2 separate regions of the Homo sapiens genome follow, and region 2 is linked to region 1. Evidence: promoter capture Hi-C in human tissues and cell types (Jung and others, 2019). All regions are on one chromosome and are shown on one strand. The core of a region is centred on a gene start or on the middle of the fragment in contact, and the rest is flanking DNA. Distances in the headings are between cores, read along the strand shown.

Region 1 (2,633 bases), core at 46-2,545:
GTGCTGGGATTACAGGCATGAGCCACCAAGCCAAGCCCACTCGTTTTTCATTCTTGATATTGACAGACTGCCCAGAGACAGACAGGAGTGGGTAGTGAGGGTCAGAAGGATTAAGGAGCTTGCCTAGCCGATGAGGAAGGGAACAAGATAAGATGCAAACCTCAGTCTCTGACTCTCAGCCAAGTGCTCACTACCCCAACTAGCTGTCAAATGAGGTGGATGGGGCCTTGGTTAGGTACATAGACACCTGAGTCATATCAACCTGGTGTGAATCCCAGCTCTGATGTTGAGCGATTGGCCTAGCCTCTCTCTGCCTCCATTTTCTCTTTTTTCATTTCATTTTTCTTTTTTGAGGCAGAGTCTCACTCTGTCACTGCCTCTGTTTTCCATAGCAAAATGGAGTTAATAATGCTTACATGAGGGATTAAAACGAAGACAATGCCTACCTAATGCTTAGAATGGTGCCTGGAACATAGGAACAATGTTGAAACAGTCTTTCATTCTTCCCTCCTATCACTGTGATCATCAGTACCACCACACACTGCTTCTCATTTAGTGCCTGAATTTTAGAGCCTGCCTGGAGGCTGGAGCCCTGCCTGGACATTTCCCTTAATCTTGTTATCCTCCTCAGAGAGGCGGCACCCACCCCATTGGCAGACGCCACGGGAATTCTCTGGGCCTGCTTGTCATCACTCCAGATGTTGTTTAGAGTTCTTCTGTTAGCACAGCTGTTTCTAGGGTCTGGAAAAACTCTAAGGACCCCCAGGAGGATACACACCAGATTGGGTCTGGGCTCACACCACCCTGCATCCCCAGAGCCTCCCTGGACGCTGTTTGCAAGGTCCTCACCGCCTGGAAGTCCAGGAGCCATTTTTAGGGAACAGCATTCAAGCTCAACATGGCAAGTTCCCTCTTTCCTGCAGGGGAGGACCAGAAGGGAGCCGGAGATGGGGGAGAAGGGTGGGAGGTGGATGGTTTGGAAAAGGGATGGAGACCCAGACGGAGAGAAGCCAGCCAGCCAGGGTGAGGGAACAAGCTGCTGTGCTGCCCAGGAGAGGCCTGGCCTCAGGCTGCCAGCCTCAGGGAGGTAGATGCGGCTGTGACAGCAGCAAAGAATGACGGCCAAGGGCGACAGCAGGGGCTGGCCATGCTGTAAAGGGGCTTCTTGGGAGGGTCCAGCCTCAGGAATCAAGGGGAACTCCTGAGCCGAGAATTCTGAAGATCTCCTCCCTCCCTGAAGCTGTGGGCTGGGCCATCGGAAAACTTTCAGTTTTGTTTCCTTGCCTGCAAGAAACGAAACTCAACCGAAAGCCTGCAGAGAGCAGAACATGGAAGGAGACTTCTCGGTGTGCAGGAACTGGTAAGAAAGTGCTTTCTCCAGCGGCAGACCCGGGCTGGCGAGGGAGAGACGTAGACGACATAGGGCTGTTTCTGAAGGGAGCAGAAAGTGGTTCCTGCATAAGAACACTTAGGAGGACAAGCAGCTGGAGACCGTGGGCCCCAAGGGTAGGAGGGTTTAAACTTGGTAATCTCTGGGTGGGGGTGGGCAGCATTACCTCCACTTCACTGCAGCCCCTTTCCCCCAAATGTTAGGCTTTCTGGGACAGTTCTGAAGCCAAATAGCCCGGCCAGTGGTCCCAACTGGGCTACTCATACTTGTGAGACCTTGGGTCCTAATTTGGGGTTCTGATACTATGACCTTCACACCCATCTGTGAAAGAAAGTGTCCCACGGAGATTCTCCAGGACTACTCTCACCCTCCTTGGAAAGGGAGCCGTGGGGCGGGGCAGGGGGGACAGAGCAGGGGGCTGGGACCACACCTCTAACGGGAGGGGGGGCGCGGAATCTGACCGATCAAAAAGCCCCATTCTCAAAGCTCCCTACCTGTGACAGGGACCTGAGTGGACCCTCCCCAGAGAGCTTTGCTCCAGCCAGACCCTTCAAGTACTCTGGTTTCTCAACCAGCCCAGGAAGAGCAGGGGGAGAAGGGGCCAGGTCAGGCAGAGGAGAGAGAGCAGAGGAAGGGAAGATGATGCTGCCTGTGTGCCCGCTGCCTGGGCAGAAGAGGAGTGAGGCTTTGACAGTCCCTCTCGGAGCACGTCCCCTGTGCCAGGAACATGGGCATGTAACTCTTCTCGTCCCCTGGGCCTTTACGGCTACAGCCACCCCATTTCCCTTCTCCCAAGCTGCCACAAGCAAGAGCTGATGGAAATGAAAGGAGTCATTTCTTTCTTTCTTCTTCTTTTTTTTTTTTTTTTAAGATGGAGTTTCGCTTCTTTTTGCCCAGGCTGGAGTGCCTGGAGTGCAATGGCGCGATTTCAGCTCACTGCAACCTTCATCTCTCGGGTTCAAGTGATTCTCCTGCCTCAGCCTCCCGAGTAGTTGGGATTACAGGCGTGCACCGCCATGCCCGGCTAATTTTGTATTGTTTTAGTAGAGATGAGGTTTCACCATGTTGGCCAGGCTGATCTCTAACTCCTGACCTCAGGTGATCCACCCGCCTCGGCCTCCCAAAGTGCTGGGATTACAGGCATGAGCCACCACACCCAGCCAAAAGGGGGCACTTCTTGGCAAAAAGGACGGTTAGAGAAAAATGCCCTGCCCAGGAAGTGGGAGGCTCAGAACCCTTCCTT
Region 2 (2,633 bases), core at 95-2,594, 160 kb after region 1:
GCAAGCACCACCTCCTGGCTGGAGGCCAACCAGCACAGTCCATTACAGCATCTCCTGGTAGAATAACATTGCACCCAGGAAGAAGGAGGCTCTATGATCTCAGCTATTACCACTGCCTGCATCACTCCGGCTAACCAGGAGGTCCTGAGTCCACATGACCAGCTCATTACTACTATAACTAGCATTCAAGAAAGCCAACATACTATGGCTACCAATAACCAAGGAATTTCAGAGTCTACGTCACTCCCCTGCTACCCCCAGTAGAGCTGGTGTTGCTACCCACTTCTGGGAAACTGGCATTCACAACTGGCATTTCCCAACACCAGCCTGGAGGGTGGCAACGTCACTGGGCAGCTAGACCCAGAGGAGCAACAACATTCACAGTAGCGTGGCTCACAGGGACTCCCACTCATAGGGAAAGGGGGAGTGCGCCCCATCAAGGGAAGACCCTGTGGGACCAAAGAATCGGGATGGCAGGCCTTGAGCATCAGATCCTTCCGCTGGTGGAAAGCTTCCTTGAGCAGAGGCGCAGCTGAAGTGCTAGGCTCAGCGGGGAAAGCCTTCAGCTCTATCGCAACAGTCAGACAGCTTTGGTGCATGGGAAGGATCTTGGAGAAGAGGCAGTCTTTCCCCCCTTGTTCACCACCATATGCACAGTTGGGACTTCTCCCACAGGAGCTCGACATGGATGCAACTATAGACGGCCATTCTGGAACACATCAAGGCGACTGCATCCCCACAAGAGGAGCACCCTCCAGGATCAGGCTTGCACAAGAAACAGTCACAATTCCTCTCTATTTGGAACACCAACACCTACAGATGAAAAGAGGTGCCTGTCTGATCTGAATAGCCAGAGCGCTGGGACAGGAGCATATCTAAGAAGTGGAAAACGTCCCTGCTGACCTTGCAGGGGAGCTAAGGTGGCTCCAACCCTTCTCCCTGATAAGACCTCACTGTGACTCACCGAGGGCTCCTCCAGCCACCTCTGTCAAGCCTGGGTCTTCATTTACCCACTTGCTTTACCCACAACCGATTCCTACTCAGGGACACCTCTTCTACTGGCCTGAAACCTGAACCATCAAACCAGTAAATAAAATACTGGGGGAAAATAAATAAATAAAAAGTGCATGAGATGGGAGAAGGAGATAAGCTTTAAGAAACCTCTACCATTCCAACCCCCTAGGAGATAATGGAATGGAAAACCAAACACTGTATGTTCTCACTTATAAGTGAGAGCTAAGCTAGGAATACGCAAAGGCATACAGAGTGATATAACGGACTTTAGAGATTCAGAAGGAGATTCAGGAGGGTGGGAAGAGGACCAAGGGAACAAAATCTATGCATTAGGTACAATGTACACCATTCAGGTGACGGGTGCACCAAAATCTCAGACTTCACCGCTATATAATTCATCCATGTCACCAAAAACCACCTGTACCCCATTAATAAATTAATAATAAAATAAATTTTTAAAAAAAGTTTTAGCTCACTGAGTGAGCTTGCAGCAGAATGGAGACAGCAAAGGAAACAGTCAGTGAATTTGAAGATAGCTCAATAGAAACTATGCAATTTGAATGACATCAAGAAAAAATTGTTTAAGTAAATAGAGTCTCAAGGACATGAAGGACAAAACCAAAAGGTCTAACATTCATGTCATCAGAGTCAAAGAAAGATAAGAGTGTGTGGTGCACAAAAAAAATAAATAACGACTTCCAATTTTTCAAATTTCATAAAAGATATAACTTACAGCTTCGAAAATCTCAACAAATCACCAACAGGATAAAACAAACAAATCCTCATCCAGATAATCACAATCAAACTAGTGAAAACTAAAGCCAAAGAAAAAAATCTTGAAAGCAAGCAGAGAAAAGCAATGTATTTCCCATAGAGAAATAATAATTTGAATGACTGCAGGGTTCTCATCAAAAACAATGGAGGCCAGAAGATTCATCTGACAAAGCACTAATATCCAGAATCTACAACAAACTCAAACGAATTAGCAAGAAAACAACAATCCCATCAAAAAGTGGGCTAAGGACATGAATAGACAACAATTCTCAAGATATACAAAATGACCAACATATGAAAAATGCTCAACATCACTAATCAGGAAAACACAAATCAAAACCACAATGTGATACCACCTTACTCCTGCAAGAATGGCCATCATCAAAAAAATCAAAACATAATAGACGTTGGCACGGATGTAGTGAACAGGGAACACTTCTACACTGCTGGTGGGAATGTAAACTAGTACAACCACTATGGAAAACAGTGTGGAGATTCACAGAGAACTAAAAGTAGAACTACCATTCGATCCAGCAATCCCACTACTGGGCATCTACCCAGAGGAAAAGAAGTCATTATACAAAAAAGGTACTTGCACACACATGTTTATAGCAGCACAATTCGCAATTGCGAAACTGTGGAACCAACCAAAATGCCCATCAATCAACAAGTGGATAAAGAAACTGTGATATGCATATACACATACATACGATGGAATACTACTCAGCCATAAAAAGCAACGAGTTAATGGCAGCAACCTGGATGCAACTGGAGACTATTATTCTAAGTGAAGTAACTCAGGAATGGAAAACCAAATATCCTATATTCTCACTCATAAGTGGGAG

What was found. The method cuts DNA at HindIII sites, captures the fragments that hold promoters and counts their contacts. A contact is called where the count stands out against the background at its distance.
Region 2: a fragment that was not itself captured here is called in contact with the fragment with the promoter of XAF1 in region 1 in 2 of the 25 tissues and cell types used here (H1 embryonic stem cells and liver).

What each region holds. Positions count from the first base shown.
Region 1 is chr17:6,754,751-6,757,383 of GRCh38, forward strand. XAF1 (XIAP associated factor 1) reads left to right here and starts at 1,296. Exons shown (of 7, transcript NM_017523.5): 1 at 1,296-1,360. The coding sequence starts at 1,329. RefSeq lists an enhancer at 953-1,472. The HindIII fragment of the contact is 6,790 bases long and covers 1-2,633 here.
Region 2 is chr17:6,914,782-6,917,414 of GRCh38, forward strand. No RefSeq gene overlaps it. Among named protein-coding and RNA genes, the nearest start is that of ALOX12, 80 kb to the right of the region's middle. RefSeq lists an enhancer at 1-83. The HindIII fragment of the contact is 5,172 bases long and covers 1-2,633 here.